Regions from separate parts of the Homo sapiens genome. Here regions 1 and 2 are each linked to region 3. Evidence: promoter capture Hi-C in 16 types of primary human blood cells and fetal thymus (Javierre and others, 2016). All regions are on one chromosome and are shown on one strand. Each heading gives the region's core, a stretch centred on a gene start or on the middle of the fragment in contact. The rest is flanking DNA. Distances are from core to core; before and after follow the strand shown.

What was found. The method cuts DNA at HindIII sites, captures the fragments that hold promoters and counts their contacts. A CHiCAGO score of 5 or more calls a contact.
Region 1: a fragment that was not itself captured here is called in contact with the fragment with the promoter of WDR53 in region 3 in 3 of 17 cell types (fetal thymus, endothelial precursors and naive B cells); the score reaches 5.2 in fetal thymus.
Region 2: a contact is called between a fragment that was not itself captured here and the fragment with the promoter of WDR53 in region 3, in 11 of 17 cell types (naive CD8 T cells, megakaryocytes, naive CD4 T cells and 8 more). The highest score is 8.7, in naive CD8 T cells.

The regions. Positions count from the first base shown.
Region 1 is chr3:196,952,086-196,956,721 of GRCh38, reverse strand. The region is part of intron 1 of PIGZ (phosphatidylinositol glycan anchor biosynthesis class Z (Gwada blood group)); the gene reads left to right. Among named protein-coding and RNA genes, the nearest start is that of NCBP2AS2, 12 kb to the right of the region's middle. The HindIII fragment of the contact is 1,283 bases long and covers 1,818-3,100 here.
Region 2 is chr3:196,250,785-196,255,756 of GRCh38, reverse strand. The region is part of intron 3 of PCYT1A (phosphate cytidylyltransferase 1A, choline); the gene reads left to right. Among named protein-coding and RNA genes, the nearest start is that of PCYT1A, 34 kb to the left of the region's middle. The HindIII fragment of the contact is 1,188 bases long and covers 3,099-4,286 here.
Region 3 is chr3:196,565,540-196,569,826 of GRCh38, reverse strand. It overlaps WDR53 (WD repeat domain 53), which reads left to right and starts at 1,273. Exons shown (of 4, transcript NM_182627.3): 1 at 1,273-1,308; 2 at 2,520-2,950. FBXO45 (F-box protein 45) reads right to left here and starts at 1,167. Exons shown (of 3, transcript NM_001105573.2): 1 at 525-1,167. The coding sequence starts at 842. RefSeq lists silencers at 255-549, 671-1,210 and an enhancer at 1,932-3,131. The HindIII fragment of the contact is 1,918 bases long and covers 438-2,355 here.

The sequences.
Region 1 (4,636 bases), core at 1,210-3,709, 390 kb before region 3:
AAAGGATGATTAGAGACATGGAAGATAGAACAGAACTTACCCGACATATAGCCAAGAGAGCTAAAGATATGGAAAATATGAAATAGAACTTAAAGAGACATGGAAGATAGACTGAGAAGGTCTGTGATATGGTTTGGCTGTGTCTTCACTCAAATCTCATCTTGAATTATAGCTCCCATAATTCCCACATGCTGTGGGAGGGACCTGGTGGGAGATAATTGAATTATGGGGGTGGTTTCCCTCATACTGTTCTTGTGGTAGTGAATAGGTCTCACGAGATCTGATGGTTTTATAAGGGGAAACCCCCTTTGCTTGCGTCTCATTCGCTTGCTTCTCATTCGTTTGCTTCTCATTCGCTTTTTGCCTGCTGCCATGTAAGACGTGCCTTTGCCTTCCACCATGATTGTGAGGCCTCCCCAGCCATGTGGAACTGTGAGTCCATTAAACCTCTTTTCCTTTATAAATTACCCAGTTTCGGGTATGTCTTTATCAGCAGCATATAGTCTAATGAAGGATTACTTTCTATAAATGACAAAGGGTCCTAATCCACAGGTTCGAGAAGCCAAAAAACTTTCGACTATAATAAATAAAAAGAAATGTGCACCCAGAATAATCATAGTGAAGACACATAACATAGTATACTAAATATTAAAATATTAAATAATATATGGTATTTTATAGCATATTGGAAACTGAGTATATGTAACTTCCAAACTGTTAGAGAAAAGAGAAAAAAAACTAATTCAAAAGAAGGCAAGAAAGGACAAAAAAAATTGAAAAAACAAGACAAGAAAACACAAAATAAGATGGTATAAATAAATGTATCAATAATAACCCTAAATTGGCCGGGCGCAGTGGCTGACATCTGTAATCCCAGCATCTTGGGAGGCTGAGGTGGGCAGATCACCTGAGGTCAGGAGTTCGAGACCAGCATGGCCAACACGGCAAAACCCCGTCTCTACTAAAAATACAAAAATTAGGCAGCCGTGGTGGTGCGCACCTATAGTCCCAGCTACTCGGGAGGCTGAGGCAGGAGAATCGCTTGAACCCAGGAGGGGCAGAGGTTGCAGTGAGCCAAGATCATGCCACTGCACTCCAGCCTGGGCAGCAGAGCGAGACTATCTCAAAAAAAAAAAAAAAAAAAAGAAAGAAAGAAAAGAAAAGAAAAGGCTGGAAAATGATGTACCAGGTAAATACTAAGTTTCCAAAAAGTGTGTATAGCAACAGTAATATCAGAAAAAATATATTTTAGGACAAAACAGAACTAGAGATTAAAAGATTACTATATAATGATAAGATATTCAATTTTCCAATAAGGCATAACAATTATAAACTTCTACAAATATAATAATATAGCTTCAAAAATGAACTAAAATTGACAGAATTACAAGGAAAATTAGACAAGTCAACTATTTCATGAGCTAGTTCAACACACATTTCTGTGATTGATAAAATAAGCAGTAAAAAATCAATAAATTAAGAATATAAAAGATTTGGGCCAGGCAAGGTGGCTCATGCATGTAATCCGAGCACTTTGGGAGGCCAAGGTGGGAGGATTGCTTGAACGCAGGAGGTCAAGACCAGCCTGGGCAACATAGCAAGACTTTGTCTCTACAAAAAATTTAAAAATTAACCAAGGATGGTGGCACATACCCGTCTTCCTAGCTACTCAGGAGGCTGAGGTCAGAGGATCGCTTGATCCCAGGAGGTCGAGGCTACAGTAAGCCATGATCGTGCCACTGCACTCCAGACTGGGCAACGCAGTGAGACCCTATCTCAAAAAAAAAAAAAGATTTCAACAACACAACTAATAAGCTTGATCTAATGACAACTTATAGAACTCCATATCCAGTAAGTATAGAATGTATGGTGTTCTCAAGCATCCATGGAATATCTACAAAAATGACCATTAAAAATTAAATCCTTCAACCATAAGGCATTTGTGGAGGAAGAAATTACAATGGCAATTAGAAATATTTAGAACCAAAAGTTGATGAAATTATTACATAGCAAAACTTGCAGTGTACAGTTAATACTAATTTAGAGAAAACTGTGTGGCCTTCAACACTTCTCATAGAAAATAAGGCTCCAAATTAACGAGCTGTGCTCATAGCAAAAAATCTGAAATAAAACAATGAAATAATCACCCAAAAGAGTAAAAGGAAAGAAAAAATAAAGATGAGCAAAGAAATTAAAAACAAGGGCAAAAGTTGATGTTTTGAAGAAATTCGCAAAATCAACACAATTCTGGTGACGATTATAAAGAAAGAAAAAAGAATGCACAAGTAAACCAATATTAGGAATAAAAATCAGTTTAGAATATAAGCTACAGTACAAACTACAGTTAGAAGATTTAATTTCTAATGTTTGATAGCAGAGTAGGGTAACTATAGTTAACAACGTTTTCTTTTTAAAAAAAACTTTTTATTGATTGATTGAGACAGAGTCTTGCTCTGTCCTCCAGGCTAGGGTGCTGTGGTGTGATCTCAGCTCACCACAACCTCCACCTCCTGGGTCCAAGCAATTCTCATGCCTTAGCCACCCGAGTAGCTGGGATTACAGGTGCACACCACCACACCTGGCTAAATTTTGTATTTTTTTGGTAAAGACAGGTTTTTGCCATGTTGGCCAGGCTGGTCTCAAACTCCTGACTTAAAGCAATCTGCCTGCCTCAGCCTCCCAAAGGGCTGGGATTCCAGGTGTGAGCCACCGCACCTGGCTTTTTTTTTTTGACAGGGTCTTGCTCTGTCACCTAGGCAGAAGTGCAGTAGTGTGATCATAGCTCTCTGCAGCCTCAAATTCCTGGGTTCAAGTGATCCTCTTGTCTCAGCCTCCTGAATAGCTGGGATTACCAGCACACACCACTGTGTCCAGCTATTTTTTCGTAGAAATGGGGATCTCACTTTGCTGCCCAGGCTGGTCTGACCTCCTGGTTTCAAGCGATCCTTTCATCTCAGCCTCCCAAAGTTCTGGGATTATAGGTGTGAGCCACCTGACATTACACCTGAGAGCAAGAACTATTTAAGGTCAGAATTTAAAATATCAAGAAGTCAGGGCAACATCACTATTTCTGGAGGAGGGACAAGCAGGTTGTCAAGCTTGCTTTCCTGTTCAGCAGTGATGCTGTGGACTTACAGATCCAGCATGCCATGGGCTCAGATTGTCACTGCTCTTTGAGTTACATAGAAAACTTCTGAGATGCAGTTAATACTATATTTGAGTTGAGGGAGTTAGGATTCTCATCATATAGAGTTACAAATGTTCCCATCACCTTCCAAAAGGCAGGTTCCAGGGTGTGTGAAAGTTGGAGGGAGTGACTGGAAACAATGGGGTTGAGTGTAATTTTTGCAGGGAAATGGGTGGCATCCGTTGACTTTCCCAAGTTTTCAGAAATGCAAGAAGCAGCCTGCCATACTGGCCTGTGGATAGGAGCTGGTGATCAGGATGGGCTGCAAGACCCAGATTTGTTGGGTACCCTGATCTTCCTTGCAAATGTCACATTGAGCAAATGTCATATTTAGACCCTGTATAAGTCAGGATTCTCCAGAGAAACAGAAACAATAGGGAACTGGCTTTATCATTTACTATGAAAATTAGCTCATGCAATTATGGGGGCTGGTGAAGTCCCACAATCTGACACCTGCAAGCTGGAGAACCAGGAAAGCTGGTGGTTGAATTCAGTCTGAGTCGGGAGCCTTAGAAACAGAGGAGCCTACAGTGTAACTCCCAGTCCTAGTCCGACGGCCTGAGAGCTTGATTCAGGGAGGTGGGTTGGGGCACACTGGTGTGAGACATAGAGTCTGAAGACCCAAGAACCAGGAGCACCGATGTCTGAGGCAGGAGAAGATGGCTATCCCAGCTGAAGAGAGTGCAAATTCACCCTTCCTCCACCTTTCTGTTTTATTCAGACCCTCAATGGGTTGGATCATGCCCACCCACACTGGTGCAGCTGATCTTCTTAGTCTACCAATTCAAAGGCTAATCTTAGCTGGGCACGGTGGCTCACGCCTGTAATCCCAGGAGTTTGGGAGGCCAAAGTGGGCGGATCATGAGGTCAGGAGTTCAAGACCAGCCTCACCAACATGATGAAACCCCGTCTCTACTAAAAATACAAAAATTAGCCGGGCGTAGTGGCGTGTGCCTGTAATCCCAGCTTCTCAGGAGGCTGAGGCAGGAGAATCACTTGAACCTGGGAGGTGGAGGTTGCGGTGAGCCCAGATCATGCCACCGCACTCCAGCCTGGGTGACAGAGCAAGACTTCGTCTCAAAAAACAAACAAACAAAAAAACCACAACAAAGGCTAATCTCTCCCTGAAATACCCTTATAGACACTGCCAGAAATAATGTTCTACCAGCTATCTGGGTATCTCTTAGGCCAGTCAAGTGGACACATAAAATGAACCATCAGACTCCTTAGCAAATATGATCAGCAAGTAACCAAGTTACTCAGCAGAGGCCTCCGTTTCCCCATCTGTACAACAGGGATCCTAAGACCCACTGCTCCAGACTGTGGAAAGGATTAAATGAAATATGCATGTCACGTGCCTGGCAGTTAGTGGGCATAGAGTATGAAGTAGCTATTATTATTATTGTCATTTTTATTAAATGACAGATCCATTTTCAGTTTGTTCAGACA
Region 2 (4,972 bases), core at 2,443-4,942, 320 kb after region 3:
GGTACATAAAATTTGAAAATATGTGTACTGTTTCCAAGTTGATCTTTTGTTTTGTTTTGTTTTTGAGACAGAGTCTCGCTTGTCAACCAGGCTGGAGTGCGGTGGTGTGATCTCAGCTCACTGCAACATTTCCCTTCTGGGTTCAAGCAGTTCTCAAATCTCAGCCTCCCAAGTAGCTGGGATTACAGGAGTGAGCCACCGTGCCGGGCCTGTTTCCAAGTTTTAAAGCTTATAATTAACAAGTCCTGACTGGTATAATTGTTTTTAATTTTAGAATTATAGGATTTTACAAATAAGTCATTTTCAAGATTATCTACTTTATAGTTTCTTCATTAAGTACATAAAGCAATTAAGGTCCATAGTAACCAAGAAGCGAAGGCTTCCCCTACAGTAAAACGGATGATTAGTGGAATAGAATTGCAGCTCAAACCTCACCCGGGAATGGTGCTACTCATTGTAAGCATTAGAATAGAAGGCCTTCAGCAAAATAATTGTATTTTTGGTGGAACAAACAGCCACAAATTAGCCTATAAATTTGCCAGCTTAATTTGAACTCTGGTTTTTCTCTTAGATCTCATTTTGTCTGACTGTTTTATGTTAAATCACCAAGTAGGTAACTGCATTCATGCCAGTGCAGGACAAGGAATAAAGCAATAAAGAATGCACCTGCTCTAGTGAAGTTTCAACACCTCCCTCCTGCTCCCCAGGTTTTTACGAGGGAGGTTGTATAATCTAGGAGAAGATTCTCTACTTAGAGAAAAACAAATATGATTTGAGAGACAAGAAGGTCAGCTCTAGGAATCTTTTGGGAGATGAAAAAAATCAGCAATATGTTTAACTCAGAGAAAGGAAGGAAAAGGGAGAGTGTGAAGGGCAATGGAAATGTTAGGAACAGAATGTTTCGGTGGTAGGTATTTGGGAGAGTAAATCTATCAAAAGAGATCATTAACTGAAACCCAGGTTTCTTCTGCCTAAAGGAGGACATATGGTTACTTAGTCACCAGTGGTGCAGCGTATAATTCATAACCCACATAAACCATATAATTTATCATCCAAATCAGGACGGTTTTGAGCATGAAAGGGAGTTGCTGTTAATAATATACAGAGGTTGAGTGTGGTGGCTCATGCCTATAATCCCAGCACTTTGGGAGGCCAAGGCAGAAGGATTGCTTGAGGCTAGGAATTCAAGGCCAGCCTGGGCAATACAGTGAGATCCCATCTCTACAAAAATTTTAATAATTAGCCAGGTGTGGTGGTGTGCATCTATAGTCCCAGCCACTCAGGAGGCTGAGGTGAGAGGATTGTTTGAGCCCAGGAGGTCTAGACCACGGCAAGTCATGATTGCACCACTGCACTTCAGCCTGGGTGACAGAGACCCTATCTTAAAAAATAAATAAATACATAAATAAAAATTAAAAAAATATATATATAGGCCAGGTACAGTGACTCACACCTGTAATCCCAGCACTTTGGAAAGCTGAGGTGGGTGGATCATAAGGTCAGGAGATCGAGACCATCCTGGCTAACATGGTGAAACCCCGTCTCTACTAAAAATATAAAAAATTAGCCAGGCGTGGTGGCACACACCTGTAATCCCAGCTATTCAGGAGGCTGAGACAGGAGAATCACTTGAGCCTGGGAGGCAGAGGTTGCAGTGAGCCTAGGTCACGTCACTGCACTCTAGCCTGGGCGACAGAGTGAGACTCCGTCTCAAAAAAAAAAAATCTATCTATCTATCTATATAACATATATACATATGTAATATATGCATAATATATAAATGATATTAAATATGTATTATATAGTACATTATATAATAGAAACAGGAAAAATTATATTAAAAGTATATAATTTATATAAATATGATTATATATACTATAACATACATTAAATCAGGGGTGTGTTTATCCTGGCCAATAGCCACTTGGTAAAAGAATGGCTAACGCTAGCTTTCTTCCCAGACTAGTTCAACAGTGACCCCTTCTGGCCGTTTGGTTAATATATCAGCCTGGGTTTGCCAAAGACTTGGGATGGAATGGTGGCCAGTTGAGATGTTGGTAGGCTGGGGAAGCACTGGAGAGAGCAAGAGGCGCATCTGGGATTGGTCTGAGAAAAGGTTCAGTGATCTACTTGGCCTAACATAGGATGATTAGCTGTGCTGCAAGCAGCCACTTGATCAACAGCATTCTGTGCTATTGCCACCATCCAGGCAATGTGTTTCTTGAGCAAAATTTCCCTGCTGTATGCTGTCTAGTAGCAAAGAAACAACAAAGTAGTCTTCATTTGTATATTCTATCCCTTGTGTTTCAGGATCGAATAGTGTGAGATCATAGCCCCTCTGGACTTGTTTAGGGAAAATGGAACTATGTTAGTTACTTCATGGACGTGACTTCTGGGATACTTCAATTTTTTTTTTTTTTGAGACAGAGTCTTGCTCTGTCTCGCAGGCTGGAGTGCAGTGGCGCGATCTCAGCTCACTGCAACCTCTGCCTCCTGGGTTCAAGAGATTCTCCTGCCTCAGCCTCCCGAGTAGCTGGGATTACAGGCGCCCACCACCATACCCAGCTAATTTTTGTATTTTTAGTAGACACAGGGTTTCACCATGTTGGCCAGGCTGGCCTCAACTGCTGACCTCAGGTGATCCACCTGCCTTGGCCTCCCAAAGTGCTGGGATTACAGGCGTGAGCCACTGTGCCCGGCCCAAAAATCTTTTTAATGTATTATTTTTTAATAGGCATAGAGCCAATGCAGTGATTTCTGGGACATAGAAGGGGGATTATATGCTCAAATTTTGTTTTATTTTGCTTTGTCTTATTAAAAATTATCTTTTTAAAAATATTTTTTTCTTCTTTTTTTTTAGTTGACACATGCTGGCAGTAAAAAATAATTTTAATAGAGATAGGGTTTCACTGTGTTGCCCAGGCTGGTCTCAGACTCCTGGGCTCAAGCAGTCCTCCTACCTTGGTCTCCCAAGGTGCTGGAATTACAGGTGTGAGCTACTGTACCCAGCCTGCTTTCTCTCATAGATGAGAAAACTGAGGCATAAGGAAGTTAAGGTTACAGAGGAAGAAAGCTGGTTGGAAAGCTTGGTCAAAGCTTGAGCTATGACCTTTCTGACTCTTAAATCCATTAATTAATTCTTAGTTTTTCATTGGATTGGTATATTTAATTTAAAATTTTTATTTCCTGTATTATAAAATCAATACAACCAGCCTGGGCTGGGCATGGTGGCTCACGCCCGTAATCCCAGAACTTCGGGAGGCCAAGGCGGGCAGATCACTTGAGGTCAGGAAATTGAGACCAGCCTGGCCAACATGGGATACGAATATAAAAATACAAAAATTATCCCGGCTTGGTGGCTTTCGCCTGTAATCCCAGTGACTTGGGAGGCTGAGGCAGGATAGTCACTTGAACCCAGGAGGCAGAGGTTGCAGTGAGCCTAGATCATGTCACCACACTCCAGCCTGGGCAACAGAGCAAGACTCCATCTCAAATAAATAAATAAATAAAAATACAACTAGCTTGGGCAACATGTGAAACCCCATCTGTACAAAAAATACAAAAATCAGCTGAGCGTAGTGGTGTGCGCTGTAGCCAGTGGGGCGTGGCGGTGTGCACTGTAGCCAGTGGGGCGTGGCGGGGTGCGCTGTAGTCTGCGGGGCGTGGCGGGGTGCGCTGTAGTCAGCGGGGCGTGGTGGTGTGCGCTGTAGTCCCAGCTTCTCGGGAGGCTGAGGCGGGAGGATCATTTGAGCCTGGGAGGTGGAGGTTTCAGTGATCTGAGACCATGCCACTGCACTCCAGCCAGGGTGACAGAGCCAGACCCTGTCTCAAAAAATCAAATCAAGTGAAATCAATACATTCCCACAGTTTAATATCCATAAAATACAAAAAGGGCATAAAGTAAAATGTCTCCCTCTCAAGACCTGTCTCACAGCCACCTGGTATCCCTATAACAGGCCACCAATATTACCCATTTCTGTGAATATCTAAGTAAATTGTTTATATATCCTCCCACCTTTTAGTGGGTGTATTATGCTATATTCAATCTTCCGTTGAAATGTAGGTCGTTTCCTGACTGTTGCTATTATAAACAGTACTGCAATGAATAACATCTATATTTACTGTGAGATAATTCCCAGAATTAGAAAAGCTGGGCCACAGCTATAAGCATTTGTCGTTTGTCTTTTGATAGATACGACCTAATTGCCCTTCTTGAAAGTTGCTGATACTCCTTTCAGCAGTGTATGATTTCTTGGTTTAAAATCTACTTATTTATGAGTAAAGCTTTTTGAAAACAAAAATTCATAAACCTCCTGAGAACTACTTTCCTTCTCCTTCATTCATTGCCCTGAAGACAGGAAGGAGATGTATCTGATCCTCAACCTCAGCATGGTGTATCTGATCCTCAGCCTCAGCATAGTGTATCTGGTCCTCAGCCTCAGCATAGTGTATCTGATCCTCAACCTCAGCATGGTGTATCTGGTCCTCAACCTCAGCATGGTGTATCTGGTCCTCAGCCTCAGCATGGTGTATCTGGTCCTCAGCCTCAGCATGGTGTATCTGGTCCTCAGCCTCAGCATGGTGTATGTGATCCTCAGCCTCAGCATGGTGTATCTGGTCCTCAGCCTCAGCATGGTGTATCTGATCCTCAGCCTCAGCATGGTGTATCTGGTCCTCAGCCTCAGCATGGTGTATCTGGTCCTCAGCCTCAGCATGGTGTATCTGGTCCTCAGCCTCAGCATGGTGTATCTGGTCCTCAGCCTCAGCATAGGGTATCTGGTCCTCAACCTCAGCATAGTGTATCTGATCCTCAGCATAGTGTATCTGGTCCTCAGCCTCAGCATGGTGTATCTGGTCCTCAGCCTCAGCATAGTGTATCTGATCCTCAACCTCAGCATGGTGTATCTGATCCTCAGCATAGTGTATCTGGTCCTCAACCTCAGCATAGTGTATCTGATCCTCAGCATAGTGT
Region 3 (4,287 bases), core at 24-2,523:
GTAAGCCTCCAATATAGTGGAGGGAACTAAAGAGAACTTGGGGGAAAATAATGAAAACAAATGGTTAAAAATCAGAGCTTGGAAAAGATGAGATAAACGTGGAGTGAAAGCAAACTAGAAACTTAGAAACTTAGAAACTAAGCCCATGTTAAGGTGGCCGGGATTATTTAATATAATGAAGTCTATCTGGAGGCCGGGGAGAAAAGTAGGATGAGGGCATTAAAAGGTACAAGAGTGGTGGTCTGTCTTTAACGGGGAAAACTGTCAAAAGTTGAATGAGTGAGGCAAACTACCTAGTTGTTTGAAAAGTGGATCACGGAAGTGGGATGGGTTAAGGAGCAGAACTTCGATCCAAAGAAAAGAGAATCTTTATCTTGGGGGGAGGTGAGGAAGATACTGACTGGAGCCGTGGAAAGGCGGGCTGGTGAGGCGAAGCTTCTGACTCAGAAGCTCGGATGAGAAACACCGCGAACGACGCCGGGGAGCGGGACTGGGGGCAGCGGTGTGGCCCGGGGCTCTCTCACCTTGGCCTTGTAGCTGGGCAGGTTGCACAGGATGTCCGTGCGCAGAGCCTCTTCTGCCAGGCTGCGGGCGCACAGGCTCCGCCACACCTCGCTGTTCTCATCGCCGTGCAGGCAGCGGTACCAGTGCTTGCACACCAGGGCGCAGCTCCGCAGCTCGGACAGCTCCAGGTAAGAGAACACCAACTCCAGCACCCGGCTGGGCAGCCGGCCCCCGGCCCCCGCGGCCCCAGAGCCCGAGCCCGCGCCCGCGCCCGCGCCGCCGCCGCTACAGCCAGCGCCGCCCGAGGCTGCCCCAGCCCCCGGGGCCGGCGCCGCCATCGCCTCACCAGCCGGCCCTAGGGCCGCCGCTGCCGCCGCCGCTTCCCGCCGTCTCTGCTCGGAAGGCCAAGCCTCGCCCGGAGACCGGAGCGGCTCGCTCACCGCCCCTGTCAGTGCCAACCGCCGGCGCCTCCACCACTCCCGCCCCTGCCCGGGGGCGTCCGCCGCGCGCCCCGCCTCACTGAGGGCAGACGCACCGGCTGCAGGGGCGTCCTCCGCCCCTCCTCCGCGGCTCAGCGCGGGCGCCGAAACCGCCCGACTCGCCCGGCCTCTCCGCGGCGCGCCAGCGGCTCCGCCATGCGGGTTGAGGGCACGAAGCAAGGGCGCACGCCCAGCTCGTTCGCGGTTCCTCTCGGCCCCGGATGTGACTGTTTGGCTGCGCCGCCTCACGCCTGACGCTCGACGGGATTGGGCGCCGGCGGGTGAGGTTATCACTAGGCGCCGAGGAGGGGAGCGGGAAGCGCAGGTATGAGGCTGGCGCCGGTGGCTTCGATGCTGCTTTCCGGTGACTTCGATGCTGTTTTCCAGTGCTTTTTCCTTTTTCTGGTCTGGTGGCTCCGCGTCTGCTCTCCTGGGCTCCCTTTCCTGTGACGTTTCCCTGTGTCCGTTAGGTCCTTGCTTCAGACTCCAGCTCAACGCATGAAACTTTTCTCTCCTTGCTTGCCGGGTCCTGGCTCCCCAACCTTTTTGTGTAGCTTGGGCAGCGGAGGCCGTCTTTACCTGGTCAGGCCCTCTCGTTCTCCCTAAGTATCGGCACTTAGCGAACGTCTGTCCCTGTGTGCCTTCGCAAAGTAAGGTGGCTGCGACTGAACACCCCCTCGCCCAAACGTTCGAGTGCCATTTGAGCGCTAATTAAGTGCTGCCGTCTTTTGGACAAGATGTGGTCTTTACTGGATCCACCGCTTAGTAAGCAGATGAAGGCAATGTAGTTTTAGTCAATTAAACATTCCAATAGGGAGAATGACGTGGAGGCTATAATTATAGATGGATTCTTGGAAGGGGAAGAATTTCAGCATCCCAGCTTGGGCAACATTGCGAGGCAGTGTCGCTACAAAAAAATAGAAAAATTAGCCGAGGGTGGTGGCGTGCGCCTCTGGTCCCAGCTACTTGGGAGGCTGAGCCCGGGAGGTCGAGGCTGAGGTGAACCGTAATCGCCCTGCTGTGCTCCAGCCTGGGCGACAGAGTGAGCCCCTACCTCACACACACACACACACACACACACACACACACACAAGAATTTCAGCATTATTTGATTATACTACGATTTCCTAGGTGGCCCCAAAGTTTTCCGACAGCCTTTAAAGCATGCTTAGTAAGAGAATAATAATAACCATCATTTGAGCCACGGTGTGAACCAGGCACTGTATACTACGTCATTTACGCAGATTTTTATATACGTAATCCTCAAAACAACTCCATGAGCTGAGTAATTAAAATAATAGGGTTCACAGACTCCCTTGGTCAACTCCAATGTCTTGGAACCTTTATGTAGTAAGAAATCTTTTCTGAAGCTTCTTGCTATGTATAATCCATTTCTTAGTCTCTAGTAAAAGCAAAGGAACGGTGGCTACCTTCCCTACCCTCTGATTCATGGTGTTTGATTATTATTTGCCTGTCCCTTCTCCTCATGTCTTTTTCACCAAGTCCAGTAACCCTAATTCTTTTCATTCTTACCAGTGCCAGCGCCACAGCCCTTCAATCATTTTGGTTGCTATCCAGCTTCTCCACATCAAGTCCAACTTCAGAAACCCCAAGCCTGTAGAGAAAAGTTGACCTGTGCTGACTCTGGTGATGGTGACTGTCTCTCACTAATTTCTTTGAAGTCTTCAAGGATAAGCAGAGTTGATCCATCTGAGAAAGGGATCATGAACTAGACAGAATGAACAGCCTTAGAGGCACAGACTCTTGAACGGGACGGTGGTGGTATGACTAGTGCAGAGTGTTTAGAGATCACTCAGTTTTTAAAGACTGGCCTTTATCGTGTCTCAGTGCAGCCGAGGCAGAGCCTTTGAAGGATGCGATGTTGTCATTCTTACTAATCTAGTCCAGCCGCTGAGGTGACTTTCAACGGCAGACCGTCTCCTGAGCGCCCCAGGTAGAATTTCAAAGTAAGATTACCCTTCTCAACCCCTCCTTTTCTTTTTTACAAATCTTTCACCTGCTCATCACCCACCCCACCAAGCCCCTTCCCCATGTTCAGTACTCTCATTCTGCGCTCTGGCTGATGAGAACTGCCGGCTGTGGCACTTCACCCTTTTAAAAAATGCTCTCGGCCGGGTGCCGTGGCTCACGCCTGGAATCCCAGCACTTTGGGAGGCCGAAGCGGGCGGATCACCTGCAGTCAGGAGTTTGAGACCAGCCTGGCCAACATGGTGAAACCCCATCTCTACCAAACATACAAAAATTAACCGGGCGTGGTGGTGCATGCCTGTAGTTCCAGCTACTCAGGAGGCTGAGGCACAAGAATCGCTTGAACCTGGGAGACGGAGGTTGCAGTGAGCCGAGATTGCACCATTGCACTCCAGCCTGGGCGACGAGAGCGAAACTCTGTCTCAAAAAAAAAAAAAAGAAAAAAATGCTCTCAAAATAACTCACCTGGCAGGGCACAGTGGCTCATGCCTGTAATCCCAGCACTTTGGGAGGCCGAGGTGGGTGGATTGCTTGAGCTCAGGAGTTAGACCAGCTTGGGCAACATGGTGAAATCCTGTCTCTACAAAAAATAAGATAATTAGCTGGGCGTGGTGGTGCATGCCTGTAATCCCAGCTACTTGGGAGACTGAGGTGGGAGGATTACTTGAGCCCCGAAGGTGGAAGTTGCAGTGAGCAGAGATTGGGCCACTACACTCCAGTATGGGTAACAGAGGGAGATACTGTCTCAAAAAAAAAACACAAGAAAAAACTCACCTTTCCCTCACCCACTCTGTGTGATTTCTTTAGGTATTAGAAGGAAGTGATCTATTATCTAATTAAAGTAATTTACAGTAGGATATGATTAACTGCTGTGCTTAACGCTTTAGGCAACTCCATAGGAAAAGAGAAGCTTGTTGACTTGATACGTGAATGTGGGGATGGTGACACTTCACCTCTTTCTGCCAGGCTTTCCAGTTGCAGTCATAGAAAAGCAAGAAACAGTGGCTTGCCAACTCATTTCTGAAAAATTGTTTTGATTTAACCCAACTTTAATTACATTTTTTCCCACTACCCTTCTATCACAGCAATCTGATTAACTTTTTCATAGTGTTCTTTGGTGTGTTTCAAATAATAACAAATCATTTTAGTTTTATAGACTAAGTAAACAATTTTGGAGGCTCTAGTTGAATCGCTGATCAATAGTTTGCATAATAAATCTTGATTGACTAAAATTAATAGCCTCAGAGTTTATGGATTTCTGTTTCTGGGGCTTTCCAAACTCCCCCCTGCCCCCTCACCCCGACTCTCACCCAGG